Linked DNA regions of Homo sapiens: region 2 is linked to region 1. The links are contacts of gene promoters, found by promoter capture Hi-C in human tissues and cell types (Jung and others, 2019). All regions are on one chromosome and are shown on one strand. Each heading gives the region's core, a stretch centred on a gene start or on the middle of the fragment in contact. The rest is flanking DNA. Distances are from core to core; before and after follow the strand shown. Region 1 holds the start of ADCK2 (aarF domain containing kinase 2). Region 2 overlaps TMEM178B (transmembrane protein 178B).

Evidence for each region. Contacts are between HindIII fragments. The study calls those that stand out against the background at their distance.
Region 2: a contact is called between a fragment that was not itself captured here and the fragment with the promoter of ADCK2 in region 1, in 1 of the 25 tissues and cell types used here (thymus).

Annotation. Positions count from the first base shown.
Region 1 is chr7:140,670,974-140,674,465 of GRCh38, reverse strand. ADCK2 (aarF domain containing kinase 2) reads right to left here and starts at 1,521. Exons shown (of 8, transcript NM_052853.4): 1 at 203-1,521. The coding sequence starts at 1,135. RefSeq lists a silencer at 1,127-1,586. The HindIII fragment of the contact is 30,105 bases long and covers 1-3,492 here.
Region 2 is chr7:141,076,396-141,079,887 of GRCh38, reverse strand. All of the region lies in intron 1 of TMEM178B (transmembrane protein 178B), which reads right to left. Among named protein-coding and RNA genes, the nearest start is that of TMEM178B, 4.1 kb to the right of the region's middle. The HindIII fragment of the contact is 3,666 bases long and covers 1-3,492 here.

The DNA of each region.
Region 1 (3,492 bases), core at 272-2,771:
CACTCCAGACTCAGTTCATTTTCCTCTATCAGACTATTCACACCGCCACTTCAAGCCAATAAATGAAACAGCTTGCATGAAATAAGCACTCAGATATTGGTCAGGCAAATAGAAATAAACGTGGGGGCGATTTGCATGGCGGTTGTTTCTGATCTGGGATAGCTCAGTGGGTAGGTGAGCTGTGAGCTCTCACAACACTTACTTTCACTGCCACGGAGATGAGGTTGGTGGCCTCAGGTTGGTGGCCAGGGACCTGAGCCCGAGACACCCCTGCATTTGATCCAACCAGGTCAGCTTTAGGGAGGAGCAGCCTTTCTAGAAACGACTGGTCTGCGAGATTTTCTGGAGGTTTCCGGCCATTTCCAAGGTATCCAAAGAGCTCTCTCAGCCCACCGACTGCCCCAGTATGTGAGAAGGGCGGCAGACAGGAGGCCCTGCCAAGTCTCTGGACGCTGTCAGTCTCCAGGAAGGCAGTGTTGGCGTATGCTTTGTACACCTGGGCCACGCAGCCTGAGCCCACAGGTTCCCGGTTCTCAAAAGAGAGGATGCTCCCCCAGTCATCCCCAAAAGCCTGCCGAAGGAAGCGCTCAGTGTGAGTCCACGGGTGGGGCGTCACTCGGACATGCAGCTTGGAAAATTGGGCACAGAAAGCCTCCGAAAACAGATCGCGCCGGGTGCTGGCCCACTGGCCCAGTTTGATGTAGGTTGGGCCTGAGGTCTCGGTGGCTTTCAGAAGCAGGTGGAGCCAGAGGGTGGAGACGCTGGGAGCCAGGTAGGTGAGGGGGTAGAGGAGTAGGAGGGGGAAGAATTTCACCAACAGAGCGCCGGCGCGAAGCCAGAGGCGGAGATGCAGGAAGACGCCGCCCAGAGGTCCCGCTCGGGGGAGGCTCTCCGCGGGCCCCGCGCCAGCCGCCCCGCTGCAGCGGACCCTTCGCCGACTCAGAACGTCAGGGGCCCCCTCACCCACGTCCCCGCACAGGGAGACGACCTTGGGCAAAGTGCCCAGCAGAAGCCAGCAGAGCCTGGCATCGCGAGGGCACTCGGAGGGCCTCAGGAGGCTGAGTCCCTGTCTGAGCTCGAAGCACCTCAGGTGCGACAGGCAAACCCTGACGGAGACGCGCCAGGGCGCCACCATCCTCCCGAGGCCCGCGGCCCAGGCGGCCCGCCCTCCACTTCAGAGGCGCCCGCTCAGGCGAGGCTGCGGTGAAGCCGAAGCCCGGCCCTGACCCCGCGGACGGAGCTGCCCATCTGGGCCGGATCCGCGCCCCGCTCCCTCCAGCACCTCGCCGGGCCTCAGGCCGGAGGCCCGCGCCCCGCCCGACACCCGCCGCGCCGCGCCGCGCCGCGCGGAAGGGGCTGTCAGACGGCACCAACTGCGGAACGGGAGGAGCCAGGACCCACGCGAAGCCAGGCCCCGGGCGCCCGCGACCTGAGCGAGGGGGCCGCGCGGGCGGAGGCAGGGGCCGGGCAGCCGCAGGGTCACCGTGCGCCCAGGGGCCAGTATGAGATCGCTGGGGTGGCGGGCACCAGCCCAGGGCGCGGGCGCAGGCGGGGGCCGGGAGGGCGGGGCGGAGCGTGGAGGGCGGGCGGAGCGTCGGGGGCGGAGCGTCGGGGGCGGGCGGGAGTGCAGGTGCAGGGAACCGAGGCACCGAGGGCTGTGGTGGAGCGGAGGGGCGCGGGAGATGGATGGGACGGGTTCGGCCACTAGGTTGAAACCGCCATTGCAAAATTATAACAGATAATGAAAGAGATCTGACCTAACCAACTCCATCTTGCTTCTAACCTCCAAGCTGTCCTTGTTCATTCCTGGGCGTTGGCTGAACTAACTTTGGGAGGAACTTAGTTTATACTTTATAGTTTAAAACAAAGATGATAACAGCCCTTTCTGAAAACAAACCTCCTTCTTGCCTGGGGAATAGACTGTCTTTGTAGGACTAACAAATTAACCAAAAGATTAGAAAGTATGATTTAGGAGTCAGGCAGCAAGGCTACAGTATTCTGACCCTCCCTAAACTGCTAATAAGATCAGTGCTCAAGATATTTTGCAGACCCTGCACTTGATGGATCAACTGACACCTACCAGATCGATAAACCAGGTCATCTGATCTTAGGCCCCCACTCCGGAACTAACTCAGCACAAGAGGACAGCTTCAGTTCCCTAAGATTTCACCTCCGACCCAACCAATCAGCACTCTCGACTCACTGGCCTTCCCCCACCCACCAAGTTGTCCTTAAAAACTCTGCCCAGTGTCCCGCGCAGCCTGATCTGTGTGAATTACTCCTTCTCTATTGCAATGCCCCTGTCTTGATAAATCGGCTCTGTCTAGGCAGCAGGCAAGGTGAACCCGCTGGGCTGTTACAGGGTGGCCGGTGGGGGCAGAGGGCTGGGTGCTGGGCGGTGAGGGTCGGAGGGAGCAGAGGGTCGGTGGCAGAGGCCCGGGCAGCCAGGGTCCCTTGACCCGCCCCTTAAAGAGGACGGCGACCCCAGGCCAAGACCACCCTGCCCTTGAGTCCTGGGTCCTGGGTAGCAAAACGCAAAGGCACCCTCTATGTCCCCCTCCCCATGTCTATCTTCCCACTGACTTCTTCGTATCTTTCATTATTCCAAAGAGCATGGCTGAAAAGTATGAAGGCAGGTTCTGAACACAGGTCCGCTTTTCAGCGGGGGTTGGGTAGGGGGGTGGTGTTGGATGGGGGTAACTGGGCTGCAGGAGTAGGAACTGGATGCTGTGTCCTCGGCTGCATTAATTCGGCAATTGTGTTGGACCTTGGGGAAAGGCTCCGGAAAGGCCATATTCATTCATTCAATAATACTCACTGAGCCCAATAAATATTTCTTGAGCCCAATCTCATATTTGTCGAGGCTCAATAATATGTACTGATCAAGCTAGGTCATGTGCTGGACCCTGGGAAAGCGGACACAAATATCCTGCCCTTACTGGCTGAATACGTAATGAGGGGGACCCAACATGGGAACATATAAATGTGCAATTTCAATTTTTTTTAAAAAAACACCCATGATAAGAAATCAAAATGTGCAGTTTCAAAGTGTGGCAAAGCCATGCAAGAAATGACCGGGCACGGTGGCTCACACCTGTAATCCCAGCACTTTGGGAGGCCGAGGCGGGGGGATCACTTGAGGTCAGGCATTCGAGACCAGCCTGGCCAATGTGGTAAAATCCCATCTCTACTAAAAATACAAAAATTAGCTGGGTGTGATGGTGCATGCCTGTAGTCCCAGATTATTCAGGAGGCTGAGGCAGGAGAATGGCTTGAACCCAGGAGGCAGAGGTTGCAGTGAGCCAGGATGGCACCACTGCACTCCAGCCTGGGCGACAGAGGGAGACTCTGTCAAAAAAAAAAAAAAAAAAAAGCCATGAAAAAAAAAAGATTACCAGAGGCACACATAGCATGCAACTACCCTGGAGAGGAAGGGAAGGCCAGAGAAAGCCTTAGAGGAGGGGGCCAAATAAAGCCCTAAACATAGGAAGG
Region 2 (3,492 bases), core at 500-2,999, 410 kb before region 1:
CACAAGTTATCTGACCTTTCTGTGCCTCAGTTCCCTCAAATTTAGGATGAGAATTTAAAATAATACTTATACTTCCTAGGGTTATTATGAACAATAAATTAGCTAATACATATAAAACTTTTAGGAGAGACCTGTCATCAAGATTGGCTATAATTATCATTAATCTCTTTCCCACCCCACCAACTTTGCAAGTGATGTTTAATGGAGATGGAGAGGGCAGGAGGGAAGAAGGGAGAAGCTTGTGAGAATTCTGTGAGTTGATGATAGAAAATTAAAATATAAATTTACTATAATTGACCATGAACTAAAGCCTTCTGCCCAATATATTCAAGTAGCAGTTTCTTAAAGTGTAGAATGATATACTTAAATTTAAACCCAAGTTATCATGGAATTATACTCATCTGAAACAAAGTTATGTGCTTGGTTCTTTTAGAGGCTATAGGCTCTGCGTGGCGCTGTCCAACAGAATTTTCTCCGATGGTGGGAATGTTCACTGTAATCTGCACTGTCCCATACAATAGCCAGTAGGCACATACGGCTACTGAACATTTGAAATGTGGCCAATACAACTACGGAAATAATTTTTGTTTGTTTGTTTTTTGAGACAGAGTCTCGCTCTGTCACCCAGGCTGGAGTGCAACGGCATGATACCAGATCACCGCAACCTCTACCTCCTAGGTTCAAGCGATTCTCCTGCCTCAGCCTCCTGAGTAGCTGGCATTACAGACACACACCACCATGCCCAGCTAATTTTTGTATTTTTACTAGAGATGGGTTTTCACCATGTTGGCGAGGCTGGTCTCGAACTCCTGAACTCAAGTGATTCACCTGCCTCGGCCTCCCAAAGTGCTGGGATTACAGGCGTGAACCACTGTGCCCAGCCTATTTTATTTAACTTTGGTTATTGTTAACTTGAACAGCCACATGTGGGTTGTGGCTCCCCAACTGGGCAGCATAGCTGTAGGGGATTTGATATACGAGCTCCCTGACTTGGTCCATGGCTGCTCTCCAGCTCCTGGTCTGCTCCTTCTCCTTGCCCCAGAAATCAACACTCACAAGGCCAAACTGCTGTTCCACACCTCTATGGCTGTGCATATGCTGGCCCATTGCCTGAAATATCCTTCCTCCACATCCACCTCCAAACCTTATCAAACATCTTGTTCAGATTTCATTTCCTCAGGACAACTTTCCCTAACCTCCTCCTGCCTACCTCCCGCTACTGCCGACACAATCCACCATCACTTTCTCTGTGTTCCTCTGCATCTGTTTCTGTTGCTGCTCTCATCATCCTGTAGTTGTAACCTATTTTCTCTGACACTAACAGACTATGCAAATTCTGAGGACCAGATCTTATGCATTTCTTCATCCTAGCGATGTGTGCCCATAACACAATACATGTGTAGTAAATATTTGCTGATCCCATTATTAATTTTTAAATATGTGAATGTTTTCTTAAAATTACTTTTGGAGTATTGACAACCACTCTGTGATTATGGGAACTCTTTAAGTCAAAGTCTATTATAAGGCCAATTTTCAAATAATAAAAAGTTCTTAGAGTATCAGTTGAAGTTCTACTTATTTCAAACTATATCAATATAATATTTTAGTACAAACCAAATAATATAATTTTCCCCTTAGAGTTCCCTAGAACAAAATCCTACCTATAACTCCTCCTCCTAAGGGTCTGGAAGTCTCTTGGATTTCAGAAACTGATCTTGTCACTGATCTGTCCCCAGTGCCTGCAGTCACTTACTAGGGAGACATGGATGAGATTTAAAAGCAAGAAGACAAAAGGACCTGATTTAAGACTTGTCATGGATGCCAACAAATGGGAATTCAGGGTAATCTACCCTTGCTGTACCCTATATCCAATCTTACCCCCAAGAAGGAAATAATTAAAACCTTATCCATCATAAAAAATAATGTCCACAAGTGATATGTGTCTGCTTAGTGACATGTTATCCAAAACAGAATTGTCTGTTTTCCTTATTCTTTGGCAAAGCTCAAGAAATCGTCCCTTCATAGATTATGTAGCATTTGTTGCAATATTGACCTGGCCTGACAGCCACACTGTTTCATATTTTCCCATCACGATTTTCTAATTTTTTACTTAAATTCTCACACAAGTGTTTCTATAATTAGAATAAGCTTGGATGGATACATTTCTGTGAACCTAATTTGTATGAAATATTTCCCAAATACCAAGCATCTGGTGAATGTATTTAACAAATGATGGTCTTTCCTGACCTCTAGGAACTTACAGTTTAATAATGCAAACAAATGAATACACAGTGATGAGAAATGCATACGTGTGGGTACAGCATGGCAGAAGGTCCTGGAGGGGAATGGATTTCAGAATGAATATGAATCCAGAGGACTTTACCTTCAAATCAGACATAGATTTGATGTTCGTTTTCTTATTAATTATGTGGTTTTATGTTGAAATGCACAAATAGCACTTTCTAATGTAATGAACATCGATTTAACAAATAACTAAGTTCTTTAGATCATTTAGATAAGTCTCTAATTTTCCTATATATTAACGGATTTTAAAGTCTTTTCTCTGGTTTTCTTTTTCCCTTGCCCATTACATATCTTCCAGAATTTTAATCAAAGTAGATATTTCAAAGAAGACAGAGGTCTGAGATCTCTTTTGCGGTTTCTAATGAATAATGTGAGATAAACATCTTTTTCTAAAATGTCTCATTTAAATATAGGGATATCAGTTTCTCTTTTTAACTTCCTTATAAAATCTGCCCATCTAAGAGGAACACTAAGTGTAAAAATTGTGTTCTATATGTTATTGGAATTGCTTGTGAATTCTACTAATATAACATGCACTTATTTCCAAAATGTGTCTATTGCTGCTCAGAAAAGGAAGATCTGGTTTTCAAAGAGTGTGTGTTGAGGTTAAAAATGAAGATAGTGACCTTAACTCTCTCAAGATTTGTAAGGCTGGCATGTCATCTATCTCAATAATACCTAACAAGAATGTCAAATGGACAGAAACAGCCATGGTAAGCGGGTGCTTGCCGCTGACAGTGATTGCTGTATTTTGGGCGATGGGGAACACCATTTCCATTAGTTCAAGTGAAATACAATGCCCTGCCAACTCTAGGTATCAGTGTATTCAATACCCCTGCTGTGCCATGTCCATTTTCTGTTGCTGCAATTAAAAATCAGTCGATACAAAATCAAAATGTTGTACATTCTTCCCCTATCCCTTTCCCTGTCTCTGTTTCCAGCTTCACCGGAAGAACATGTCACTATGGCAACCAACCCCTCCAGTGCACAGACCAAGTCAACCTTTCTAGTCAGACTGCCAAGCAGAGCAACAGGGAATCAAAGCTCTGAATGGAACCGCCAGAAACCATGAATTCCATCCCCCTTTCTCTAAGTGGGGTTAACCAACACAAGAAGGGATACCTCTCTTATTCTAGAAGGCATTCAAGGAAGGAAAAGTAAGAATATCCTTCAACAAATTCTCCCAGT